4 separate regions of the Homo sapiens genome follow, and all the other regions are linked to region 3. Evidence: promoter capture Hi-C in 16 types of primary human blood cells and fetal thymus (Javierre and others, 2016). All regions are on one chromosome and are shown on one strand. Each heading gives the region's core, a stretch centred on a gene start or on the middle of the fragment in contact. The rest is flanking DNA. Distances are from core to core; before and after follow the strand shown.

Region 1 (3,365 bases), core at 659-3,158, 230 kb before region 3:
TCAGTAGACAGAGAGAGAGGGGCAGAGAGAGAGAGAGAGAAACAGATCCTGAACAAAATCCATCATCCCTCGTGCAGCCTAATTGGCTGAGAAATCATCACAAGGGTAATATGGGCATTGCACTAACAGTCTCATAAGCAGCCAATCAGCTTCTGGGTACAGACAATAAGCACCTTTAAATAGAACCTAGAAATTATTTCACTAAAATTTGGCAGTACTTAAGTTTTTTATTTAAATTGTTCAAGTCTAATTATGAGAGGGGAAATGTTGACTTAATACAAATTCAAAGATAAACTTTTACATAAGCAAGATAGGAAACACACTTTATTTACATCAAAGTGTAAAATCCTTTGTTACATTCTGCTTAACAATGCTTCTAAAAGAAATAAACAGTTATGTTCTATGGGCTTGATTTTATAAATAAACTCTTTCAGAAAGCATTTCTTTTTTTTTCAATCCAACTTGTAAAACACGCCATGTTTTCCATAAGAAACTAGTAGGGTGTTGCTATGGGAACAACATTTTAATACCATTTTTAAAACACCAGTAGCTTCAAAGAACAATAAGGTAAAGAAAAATGAAAGGAAACTATCTTATCTGATTGGGAAAAAAAGATAATCCTAGTATTTCATGATGCAACTGTTATAATCATGTTATAATCATGCAGCAAAAGCATTTCACATACTTTTTCTGTAGATGGGAAGGAAAGTATTAGGGAATACTTTAGGAGATAATTAGCAAAGGTAAATTAATGCAAGCATTTTGAGTAAGAATAAACAGATGTTACCAGGTCCTTGTCCCAGAAAATCAGAAAGGAAAGGACACTGATGTGTGTTGAAACTCTGAAACACTATCTCTATTCATAGTCCTAGAAAGCCATCTGAATCAAATATAAGTGTTCTTTCAACTCAAGCCTAAAGAAAATGGGGGGATTATTAAGTAATAATTGATATACAAGTAATGCCTGAAAAGGTTCCATTTAGAAAATGGCCCCAGTTATAGATACCTAAGTGAATAGGGTGGGGAGGGATCTTAAATCTTAATTAATTTAGAAAAATATTTTGAACTAGTGGTTTGGACTTATAATTTTATCTGTTAACAAAAAAACTATATTTTTGTTAATAGCAAACAAAACCACAATTGAGTGGGAAAGATAGATCACTACACACTTCCAAAAATGAACCTGGCCTACAGAGAGCTGGGCTTTTTAGACTCCAGACTTTACAAAGGTGCTGGAAAAAAGTCCACTGATTGCAGTCATTTTGCTACAGAGCAAAAAATATTTACTTCTAAGTTCTGAAGAGTAACATGGAATATATGGAAGGATTAATAATAATACTTTGCATTTTCATAATCCCATAAAGTCTACAAGGTACTCTCGTATAAATTAAATCACATGCCATTTTTCCTCTAAGATAATCAAGCTGGAAAGAACAACTATTATTCAGTGGCACATCTTCATAACATTCTGTCAGAGAATAATATTTATAGTTTTATTATAGGTCAACAATAGAATACTGGGTTTCAATAATATGAACTTTTCAATAAGTAGGAAAGACAGAGACATAAGACAGAATTAGGTTATATAAGACCATTTCTCATGAGATATATGAAAACACATTATAAAAGTCAAATTATTACATACAAAAGATTCTTGGTTGAGCTATGATGAATACTAAATTGCTCTATAACTAGTAACTAACCACCCAGACCCTCGCCATACCCCTTTCACTAACTACCTATTTTTCCATTTACTGTTAGAGTGCTTTTCCCTCCCTCCCACACTACTAATCCTTTAAAGCCCATCTTAAGTATTTCCTTATCTTTGAAACTTTGAGATCATCATGTCCAAAGTGGCCTCACTCCACTTACTGTACCTACTCTTTCAGAATGCCTTCAATCACAGTCTTGTAGTATTAATTATATTCAAAAATGTGTCTTATCTTCTGGACCAGCATATAAGGTTCATGATGGAAAGAAGCATGTCATATATTGCTCTTGTATAATCCTCTTCATTACTGAGATCATAATTGTCTCTTCCTCCTCTTAAATGTTTCAATGGACTCTCAAACTCAAGATGTCTTTTTTAAAAGAAAATCTCTGTCTGCCCTCTCCATCTTAGTTCTCTTCTAGAATTCCTCTCTCAAGAAGAGCGACTGGGCCAGGTGCAGGAGCTGACACCTGTAATCCCAGCACTTTGGAAGGCCAAGGCAGGCAGACTGCTTGAGCCCGGAAGTTTGAGACCAACCTGGGCAACATACCGAGACCTCATCTCTACTAAAAAAAAAAGAAAGAAAGAAAGAAAATTAGCCAGGCATAGTGGTAAATCCCTATTGTCCCAGCCCAGCTACTCAGGAAACTGAAGAGGATCATTGGAGGCCAGAAAATCGAGGCTGCAAAGCACTATTATCCTGCCACTGCACTGCAGCCTGGGCAACTGAGCAAGACCCTGTCTCAAAAAAAAAAAAAATGAGAAAGGCCAGGCATGGTGGCTCACACCTGTAATCCCAGCACTTTGGGAGGCCAAGGTGGGGGATCACGAGGTCGGGAGTTCAAGACCAGCCTGAGCAACATGGTGAAACCCTGTCTCTACTAAAAATACAAAAATTAGCCGGGCATGGTGGCGTGCACCTGTAATCCTAGCTACTCAGGAGGCTAAGGCAGCAGAATTGCTTGAACCTGGGAAGCGGAGGTTGCAGTGAGCTGAGATTGCACCACTGCACTCCAGCCTGGGTGACAGAGCAAGACTCCATCTCAAAAAAAAAAAAAAAAGAGAGAGAGAGAAAGAGCACATGCTATCTATTAGAAGTCAAATTAGCTGCCAAAGCCAGAAAAAACGGAAATCTTTGCCACCTCTCTCCCTTGCTGCCTATATCCAATTCATCAATTTCTACCCATCTGCCCTCAGGAAAAATCTCTAAGTTTTTTTCCACTTCTGTCTATCTTCCCTAGTCTGATTGCTGCAGAGGTTTTCTAACTACTCTCCCTACATCTTCTCCTCTATCTTTACTCTCATCTATTGATACCATAGTCAGAGTGGTAAAAAAAAAAAAACTAATTTGACTGTGTCATTTCCCTGCTAAAACCCAAGATCATTAACACAGCCCACACAGCTGCATGTGACCTGGCCCTGTTAGGGGGTCTTCCCCTCTCAGGTCACTTTCATCCTCACTCATCACTTCAGGCACACCAGCATCTCCTATACTCTCAAATGTGGCATGCTGCGTCATGCTTATACACAATGTTCCCTCTACTCTGCCTAATGAGCTCCCACTCATCCTTCAAATCTCTGCACAAATGTTACTTTCTTGGGGAAATCCTCCTTGATGCCCTAAAGTTAGATAATCTTTCTCTTGTTATCCTGC
Region 2 (3,516 bases), core at 561-3,060, 210 kb before region 3:
ATTCATGTCACAATGAAAACATCAGACACAGCGAAAACACAAAATTCAAAATTGAAACAGAACAGGATACTAAACACAGCACTAGTTTCAAAGAGTAAACAAGCATAAATATAAACTCAAACATATTGCAAGATAATTCCACTCCTGTCTTAATTACCTGGAGTCAACAAAAGCATTCTGTTATAGACATTCACTATAAAAAACTGACAGACATAAACTCCCAGATTCATTTAAAGTAATTTCATAGTATAAGAAGCTTTATAGGAATCATAACCCACTAAAACACACTGTATCTCACCTAGCATGGGGACATTCAAAAGCCCGAGGACCTCAATCAAAAGCCTTTTAAAGATTTCAAAGCTCTAGCCACCAACATGTCATTCTCAGGAACACTAGGAGAAACCCAGTAGTTAAAGTGGATTTTTCAAACAATGGACATAGTATTAGGAATCCTGGGAAATCCCAACAGTTACTAAGTTGCTTAACCAAGAGAATACAGCAGTTCAAAATCTGGTGAAACATTCTGTTAAAATATTAACAGTATGAGATAAGCAGCTAGTACAATACAGTAAGTACAGTAAGCATTCTCAAGGGTGCTGATACCAGAACCAGCCACACAAAGGTCTCAGCTGAATGTCATAACTATAGTTCATATTGTGAGCTGTTCTTATAAGAGAAGTTAAATCCATGCCTTCCAAGTTTTGTCTTTTGATCATATTAGAGCCTCAGCAAAGTATCACCATGTCATGATGTTTTTGTCAAATATAGCGCCAAAGTAGTGCCACATCTGTCTTAGCTATTCCTCATTTTCCCCATTCTATGTTTACCTGCAGATAGAGCAGTTTAGGATGTTATTCAAAATCCACATTTTAAAACACCATTTTAAATCCCTTTTGAAGATTTTCACAATCATCTTCAAGCAAATAATTGAGTTATGGTTACTTTCCCTCACAATGAGTTTGAAAATTATATCCATTTTTCTTCCAACAGATAGCATTCAGGAAATAATTAAACAGTATTTTGACAAATAAAACATACTAGGTATGTCAACAAGATGGACTATGATGCAATTTTTTAAATGATGGCTAGAAGGTCATTAGAAACATGGAAAATATTTACCATATACTACTGAGAAAATACACAAATTATACTATATAAAAATATACATCTACAAATATGTTGAAGGCAATACAAAAAATTAACAGTTACGTTAAGATATAGGAAGTTATGTCAACTAACTTTAGTGCTAATATTATATTGCCTTTAAAAAGCCAAAATAAATTGATACTCTGAGAATACCTACTAAAACAATCTTTAGTATTTTCAAAGTGATAGCTCAGGCATGTTTTAAAAAGCAAAGTCAAAAATAAGGAAAGTTTAAATGATCATTTTTTCCTTTTTCTCCATCCTGTTTTTTGCCCAGACATAAAACCAGACTTTTTCAGACCACTCAGAAGCCATTAAGAAGCATAAACTGCAGGTGATTGAATGTAATCAAAGCCAAGTGTCCCTCCTGTGCCTTAAATGTATTTGTGGGTACAGAGTGAGAGCACATGTGCCTGAGAAGCTCAACACAATGCTTACGATGTAAATTTTATACATTTAATAATTAAGTTATCTATCAGGTATCTATTGCTAAATATTTAAGTTTGATGTATTCTTGAAACAAAATTATAAAAGCTTTCTAAAAAATTTTTCACATGAAACTATAATTTTTTCAACAGAAACATTTCAATCCTCAGTTCCCCTAGACAAAGTAGTCCAGAAGCTCATGTAATTGCATAGTTTTATTTTTAATACTGTAAAGAATATTACACAATCTGGATAGGTTATAGTTGCTATGGAAACTATAAGATCTTTGCAGTAAGTCAAAAAGTGCAAAATTAACACATCAAATTAATGGCTTTTGAATTTCACATCCAGGCTGTCAAAGGAATTTGAAAGCTTGAACAGAAGAGACTGAGCATAGGCCTTTTACTCTAAATTATGTGGACAGGAACAAGGAACAAACCCAGTAATTATTTCACTTAATAAGTTTAAATATAACTTCCACCTGCTAAAATAAAATACTAAAAAATTTGCAATTTTAAGATTTATTTGCAACATTTAAATTGAGAATGAAAGAAAGTACATATATCATTACTATTTCTCTTTGTAAACTAACTGTCAGATGGTAAGTGATGATGCAGCATCTCTAAGGTTCACCATATGAAGAAGTTGCAAGGTCCCAGAGGGCATATGGGACTTCTTGGCACTGTACTACGTGAATGCCAATCTTTGGGCATATGCCAACACCTTAGTCTGAAGACAAAACATGCATCCTTTAACACAACGTCTAGAAATATTTCAATGATTAGGCACATGAGACAGGGAAGCTTTATTGCTCTCATCCCACGTGAGTGCCCCTCTCCAGGAGTTCCTCCAAGTAGAGGAATTCATACCTCACAGCTTAGATGTTTCAGGCACATGTAATATTAAATATCATAAAAGAACAATTTTTTATTTTACATGACAAAGCTGAAAAGCAGGTGAACCTGCCTAGCCTACACTGCTATGATAATCCAGCTTTTAGAGGCAGCTTAGTTCCTCCTTAAAACTATTTCATTTCCAAATTACTTTTATTTCTAAATAACATAAAGATAGACAAAGCAATTCCAAAGCCTTCAGAGAAACTGTTTTCTACATTTTCGTGTATATTAGATAGTATGATTAGAGCAACTGCATATTGAAATTAATCAGAGGAATTTACTAAATGCATCCAGAAGAATTAAAAATACATGTATTTGTACTATAAACATGGATAAATGCTATATAGAATTTTTAAATATCAAGATGTTTCTTCTATATGTCTATAACATGTAGCAACACCATGAAAACTTCACTCTCAGCAGTCACAATGAAAAACAATTGTTTGATGTGAACATTACGTAACAAAATAGAACAAATAAATTTGACACAGACCAATTCTATTAGGTCTTCCATCTGAGACACTATGTTCCTTTTTTTTTTGAGACAAATGTGTCCCCCAAGTACAGTAGCACGATCTGGGCTCACTGCAGTGTCAACTTCATGGGCTCAGATGATCCTCCCACTTCACCCTCCCAAGTAGCTGGGACTGCAGGCACATACCACACACCCAGGTAATTTTTGTATTTTTTGTAAAGATGGGGTTTCGCCATATTGGCCAGGCTGGTCTCGAACTCCTGAACTCAAGTGATCCGCCCACCTCAGCCTCCCAAAGTTCTAGGATTACAGGCCTGTACCACCGCGCCCTCCTGGCTCTGGAAAATTTTTGATGCAAACAATTCTATAGAGAGTAGAAAATATAAAAAGCACACATCTGTGCAAAAAACAGAAATCATTATTTTGCCTCATCATATGAATGACCACACTATTTTTTTTTTTTTTGAGACAGAGTCTTGCTCTGTTGCTCAGGCTGGAGTGCAGTGGCATGATCTCAGTTCAGTGCAACCTCCGCCTCCCAGGTTCAAGCATTCTTCTGCATCAGCCTCCAGA
Region 3 (3,299 bases), core at 192-2,691:
CTGTGGCGTGCACCTGTAGTCCCAGTTACTCAGGAAGCAGAGGTAGGAGGCTCCCTTTGAGCCCAGGAGTTTGAGGGTACAGGGAGCTACGATGGCGCCACTGCACTCCAGGCTGGGCGACAGAGCCAGACCCTGTCACAAAAAAGAAAGGAAAGAAAGAGAGAAAGAAAGAAACAAACAATGAATAAAAGAAAGAGAGAAAGAGCATCATACTAAAAAATTTATATATTACTACTAATAATAGATTAAATGCACTTTAAATGCTTACTATGTGCTGAATACTGGGCTAAATTTATTTTATATGTATTGTCTCATTTAATCCTCACAACCACCAATCTGCCCAAAGCCTTGCTGTTAATAATGCAGCAGAACTTGACTGGTATTAAAATCCAAAGCTCAGGCTGGGGACGGTGGCTCACACCTGTAATCCCAGCATTTTGGGAGGCCCAGGCAGGGGGATCGCCTGAGGTCGGGAGTTCGAGACCAGCCTGACCAACATGGAGAAACCCCGTCTCTACTAAAAATAACAGAATTCGCCGGGCGTGGTGGCGCATGCCTATAATCCCAGCTACTCGGGAGGCTGAGGCAGGAGAATCGCTTGAACCCGGGAGGTGGAGGCTGCAGTGAGCCGAGATTGCACCATTGCACTCCAGCCTGGGTAACAAGAGCAAAACTCCATCTCCAAATAAATAAATAAATAAAAATCCAAAACTCACGATCTTAACCACTAGATCACGCTATCGCAAGTACGAAGACCGTTTCTTTCACAATCACAAACATCTATGGGATACTTCTGAAAATTCTGTTCAAACTTCTCTTGCCCAGGTCTCTGTGTTCCTATAACAATGTGTATCTCTTACAGCACTTGCTTGGATCCATTTATGTACCTCTCACAGATCTTATGCTCCTGCAGGCCTGAAACTTAAGCCCACTTTCTATTTTTCATAGCTCCTGGTGCAGTGCTTTTTACTGTGTAGGCGCTCATTAGTATTAAACTGAATGTGCCTTTAACTTGGCTTGGGGTACGTTGAATTGAGGATGAGCGCTCACACAATATTAAGAATTTCTTTCCAAGAAATGTGCTCGGGTCAAACACAAGGCCTTTCTGTCCATGATCCGCCTGAAACCATGGTTTCCTTGTTTTCGCCTTTATCCCTTCTGCCTTGCCAGTCCTCCCCGCCAGCGGGGCCGAGAGCCCGGCGACTCTTGCGTGACCGAGCGGGCTCCGCTGCCTACGGCAGCCCACCCCCAGCCCCTGCTCTGAGGCACCGAGAAACGAGGAGGCCCGTGGCGAGTCTCCACGTGGGTACCGGCGCTCTCGGCGCCCGTAGCCACCCGCCCGCCGGAAGCCGACATCTCGAGTTCTGGCAGAAGCAATTTGCGCGGCGAGGAGCGGAGCGGCAGGAACCCAATAAGCTGCTTCGCCTCGGAGCTGAAGCCCGTACTCAAGATGGCGGCTCCGGGCGGGCGTGGCCAGTGACTAGAAGGCGAGGCGCCGCGGGACCATGGCGGCGGCGGCGGACGAGCGGAGTCCAGAGGACGGAGAAGACGAGGAAGAGGAGGTAGTAAGCGCTACGCCAAAAGCCTGCACCGCAGTGGCGGTGATGCCTGTGCTGGCTGTGTGTGGGGAAGGGAGTTGGGGAGCTGCGGGCCGGAGGGAGGCCCCACTGCTCCTCACCGGCTTCTTGCTCCTGGGCGCGAGGAGCCGGGCAGCTTGGGACCTTAGCCCTAATCGTCACCCCGTACTTGGGATGGGAAGTACCGGGAAGTTACCTTAGGTAGCGTAGTTTCCTCTTGCTGAAAACAGGGTCCGGTTTTCACAAATGTGGGAAATTTGGCTTCTTTTGCTAATTGCTCCCTCTTGGCCGCTCGCGTGCTAGCATGTTAACCCCTCTTTCTTTCACCAGGAGCAGTTGGTTCTGGTGGAATTATCAGGAATTATTGATTCAGACTTCCTCTCAAAATGTGAAAATAAATGCAAGGTTTTGGTGAGTTTTCTAGACTTGGGGGGATTGTTCTAGAGTGTCTTAAATGTAAAACAAGAATCAATGGTGAAATACCTATCCGCAAGTATTGATATATTTATTTCACCTTACAAAGTAGTGAACTCTAAGGATAAGAAGTATACTAAGTATAATTAATTAATATGTAATTAAGTATAATGTAGAAGTACAGCGGGGACTATGGGAGCAGATAGGAGAAAATGGCTAACTTTGCTTGCCTGTTTGAATGTGTGGCTGAAGAGAAAGTTACAGATTTGGAGGAAGTAACATTGTGATATGGAACCGTACATATATTCCTGTATTCTCAGCACTTTGGGAGGCAGAGGTGGGAGGATCACTTGAGCCCAGGAATTGGAGACCATCCTAGGCAACATAACGAGACCCCTTCTCTAAAATAATAATAAAAAAAAATGGCCAGGCGCGGTGGCTCACGCCTGTAATCCCAATACTGGGAGGCCGAGGCGGGTAGATCACGAGCCCAGGAGTTCGAGACCAGCCTGGCCAACATGGTGTAACCCCGTCTCTACTGAAATACAAAAATTAGCCAGGCATGGTGGTGGGCGCCTGTAATCCCAGCTACTCGGGAGGCCGAGACAGGAGAATCGCGTGATCCCTGGAGGCAGAGGTTGCAGTGAGCCGAGATCGCGCCACTGTACTCCAGCCTGGGCAACAAAGGGCAAAACTCCATCTCAATAAAAAAAAAAAATAATAATAATAATAAATTAGCTGGGGATGGTGGCATGCGCCTGTGGTCCCTGCTGCTCAGGAGGCTGAGGTGGGAGGATTGCCTGAACATGATCATGCCACTGCATTCCAGCCTGGGTGACAGAGCTAGACACTGTCTCAAAAAATAAATAGATGACAGATAGACTCTTTGCACTACTGTTGACAAAACTTCCTCTGTTTTTAGCTTACTCTTGAACAGGATGTTGATTGAAATAAACCTTGTTACTTGAGTATGAATTAAGTAGTCTTCAGGTTGTAACTGCTGTGATCAGAGCAGTTGTAGTTTATCCTGTACTTGGTAGGACAAGATGCTCTAGAGGTTCCCCAGTTTTGGAGATTAGTTTCCTTGGTAGCAAGGTTACAATGTTGAAGCCTTTTTCTAATTATGTTTTTTTTTTATGATCCTTTATTCTGTTGTAGGGCATTGACACTGAGAGGCCCATTCTGCAAGTGGACAGCTGTGTCTTTGCTGGGGAGTATGAAGGTAGGAGGATGTCAGATAGATGGAACTCTTTCTGATATGGGCTTTTCAGAGATGGTAGCTCTTCTCAACAATTTGCCTTTGTATTT
Region 4 (3,230 bases), core at 489-2,988, 140 kb before region 3:
AGAAGGGAATTGTCAATTCTACCCAAAGTGGTAGATAAGGAAAGAATAGTGAACTGCCTGCTAGGTTTTGAAAGAAACTTGGAAAACTAGTGGGAGGGGGAATGATTTACCTTATTTGCTACATCACCCACTCCTGGAAAACTTCCTTAGACCTTGAGTCTCTTCAGGCTGGGTGCAGTGGCTCACACCTGTAATCCCAGCACTTTGGGAGGCCAAGGCGGGTGGATCACGAGGTCTGGAGTTCAAGACCAGCCTGGCCAAGACAGTGAAACCCTGCCTCTTATTAAAAATGCAAAAATTAGCCAGGTGTGGTAGCATGTGTCTGTAGTCCCATTTACTCGGGAGGCTGAGGCAGGAGAATCCCTTGAACCCGGGAGGCAGAAGTTGCAGTGAGCTGAGACCATGCCACTGCACTCCAGCCTGGGCAACAGAGCAAGACCCCGACTCAAAAAAAAATGGTATCTTTAATCAAGAAAAATCTCAGTTGCTCTTGTTGCCATGCACTATAATAACTGCTGGAGATAGCAGGAAAAAAATTAGTCTTTTTCCATTGGGGAATTAAACCTGAAAAAACAAATATGCAAGCAAATTAAAAATAAACTGTGGTTTAAAAGAGCACTGGTAGAATAGGCGGGGTTCTAAGTGAGTCAGGGTAGACTTCATGAAGTAGGTAGGTTTGAGCCAAATTTTTTTTTCACTCCAGCCCCATCTGCTGAGTGAGAGCCAAAATTTAAAGCATGAGTAAGCCTTTACTTGAAGGACAAGTCGAAGAGCAAGAAACAAGGAATTATTTCAGGTAGAACAGCATGTACATAAATCATGAGAGAACATCATATATTCTGAGAAATGCAACTAGTTTGAATATTACAGATTAAGACAGGAAAAAGTAATGGATAAGAAAATACTAAACAGATAAGCAGAGGTCAAATTATGAAAAGCTATTTATGTCAGGGAGAGGTTTTAGGTTTCATTATTCTGTCGACCTAAAAGGAAAAAGCTGGGGCAAAATTAATATAAGTAGAGAGTTTATTTGAGCCAAGCTTTAGAATTGCAACCCAGGAGTATAGATACAAGTTGCCCTGAATGTACACTCCAATCAGGAGCAGTTGCAAGTAGATTTTTAAAGGCAAAAAAAGGGGGATAGGAAGTGGGCTCAAAGTTGTTTGTGAGGAATTCTCATTGGTTTACAGGAATAACATTGATTAATGAATGAGCTATACATTGTTAAGATATAGGGTGTGGGTTATAGCATCTGGTGCAGCATTATTGGATTAATTTGTAGCTACTTGTGGCAATAGCAAGCATTTCAGGAGATGAATACATAGCTCAAGGGGAAAGTATCACCTGATTCCAGTATCTTATTTATATATATATTTATTTATTTATTTATTTATTTTGAGACAGAGTCTTGCTCTGTCACCCAGGCTGGAATGCTGTGGCGCGATCTCACCTCACTGCAGTCTCTGCCTCCTGGGTTCTAGTGATTCTCCTGTCTCAGCCTCCTGTGTAGCTGGGATTACAGGCATGTGCCACCAAGCCCAACTAATTGTATTTTTAGTAGAGACAGGGTTTTGCCATGTTGGCCAGGCTGGTCTTGAACTCCTGGCATCAAGTGATCCGCCCACCTTGGCCTCCCAAAGTGTTGGGATTATAGGCGCGAGCCTAATTCCTGTATTATTTTAATGTCTCTCTGTGCCTTATAATTTAAAAGGCCTCACATTCCTCAAATGAAAGTTTTTTTCTTTTCTCAATTCTGTAGGCAATAGGAAGCTATTACACACTTTTGAGCTAAGGAGAACTATAATCAGCCCTGAGTATTAAGCAAATTCTCTGACAAAAGTGTTCAGGTTCAATTGGAGGAAGGTGAGACTAGCAAAGAAGCTATTGCAATAGGACGGTAAAAACAACGATCTGGGCCGGGTGCAGTGGCTCATGGCTGTAATCCCACCACTTTGGGAGGCCGAGGTGGGCGGATCACCTCAGTCCAGGAGTTTGAGACCAGCCTAATCAACACGGAGAAACCCCGTCTCTACTACAAATACAAAATGAGCCGGGCGTGGTGGCGCATGCCTGTAATCCCAGCTACTCAGGAGGCTGAGGCAGGAGAATCACTTGAACCTGGGAGGCAGAGGTTGCAGTGAGCCAAGATTGCACCATTGCACTCCAGCCTGGGCAACAAGATCGAAACTCTGTTTCAAAACAAACTAACAAACAAAAAACAAGGATCTGAACCACGGAAGAGCAGCACTATAAGAAAAAAGCACATACTATAATTATTTAGGAGTAAAATTTAACAAGACTTAGTAATTAATTAAATGTGGGACTAAAGGAGAGGGAAGAATCCAAGATAACTTTGAGAATTTTGACTTCAGCAATATGGTAGAAATTTCAGAAAGTTAGGAAACACAGGAATGGGAGCAATTTTTGAGAGAAAGATAAGCTTGGTTGGGGCATGTCGAATTGGAAGTACCTATGGGGGCATCAAGATAGAAATAACTGTCAGGCATTTGAACCACAGTGACTCCATCTTGAATAGGGTAGAATAAGGCTGAGACCTGCTGTGCTGCATTCCCAGGAAGCTAGGTGTTTTTAGTCACATGGTGAAATAGGAAGCCTGCACAAGATACAGATCATAAAGACTCCACTGATAAGATGCAGTAAAGAAGCTAGACAAAACCCACCAAAACCAGGATGGTGACCTCTGGTCTACTCACTGACCCCTGGTCTCCTTGTTGCCCATTATATGTTAGTTATAATGCATTAGCATGCATTATAGGAGACATCCTACCAGTGCCATGACAGTTTACAAATGCCATAGCAACTTGAGAAGTTACCCTATAGAGTCTAAAAAGGGGAGAAGCCCTCAATTCTGGGAAATCCCCATGTCTTTCCCAGAAAACTTGTGAATAATCCACCCCTTGTTTATCATGTAACCAAGAAATAACTGTAAGTATACTCAGTGGAGCAGCCCATATCTCTGCTCTGCCTATGGAGTAGCCATTCTTTTGTTTACTTCTCCAGTAAACTTGCTTTCACTTTACTCTATGGACGCACCCCAAATTCTTTCTTTCTTTCTTTCTTTTTTTTTTTTTGAGATGGACTTTTGCTCTTGTTGCCCAGGCTGGAGCGCAATGGTGCGATCTTGGCTCACCACGACCTCCACCTCCCAGGTTCAAGCGATTCTCCTGCCTCAGCCTCCCAGGTAGCTGGGATTATAGGCATGCACTCGC

Evidence for each region. The method cuts DNA at HindIII sites, captures the fragments that hold promoters and counts their contacts. A CHiCAGO score of 5 or more calls a contact.
Region 1: a contact is called between a fragment that was not itself captured here and the fragment with the promoter of GTF3C6 in region 3, in 4 of 17 cell types (megakaryocytes, neutrophils, M1 macrophages and 1 more). The highest score is 8.3, in megakaryocytes.
Region 2: a fragment that was not itself captured here is called in contact with the fragment with the promoter of GTF3C6 in region 3 in 1 of 17 cell types (megakaryocytes); the score reaches 6.4 in megakaryocytes.
Region 4: a contact is called between a fragment that was not itself captured here and the fragment with the promoter of GTF3C6 in region 3, in 1 of 17 cell types (megakaryocytes). The highest score is 5.6, in megakaryocytes.

What each region holds. Positions count from the first base shown.
Region 1 is chr6:110,725,532-110,728,896 of GRCh38, forward strand. The region is part of intron 2 of CDK19 (cyclin dependent kinase 19); the gene reads right to left. Among named protein-coding and RNA genes, the nearest start is that of CDK19, 88 kb to the right of the region's middle. The HindIII fragment of the contact is 5,536 bases long and covers 1-3,365 here.
Region 2 is chr6:110,746,383-110,749,898 of GRCh38, forward strand. All of the region lies in intron 1 of CDK19 (cyclin dependent kinase 19), which reads right to left. Among named protein-coding and RNA genes, the nearest start is that of CDK19, 67 kb to the right of the region's middle. The HindIII fragment of the contact is 264 bases long and covers 1,679-1,942 here.
Region 3 is chr6:110,957,265-110,960,563 of GRCh38, forward strand. It overlaps GTF3C6 (general transcription factor IIIC subunit 6), which reads left to right and starts at 1,442. Exons shown (of 6, transcript NM_138408.4): 1 at 1,442-1,562; 2 at 1,908-1,988; 3 at 3,150-3,213. The coding sequence starts at 1,506. RefSeq lists an enhancer at 1,315-1,764. The HindIII fragment of the contact is 8,604 bases long and covers 1-3,299 here.
Region 4 is chr6:110,817,162-110,820,391 of GRCh38, forward strand. It overlaps a transcript of AMD1 not described here. Among named protein-coding and RNA genes, the nearest start is that of CDK19, 3.3 kb to the left of the region's middle. The HindIII fragment of the contact is 1,400 bases long and covers 1,039-2,438 here.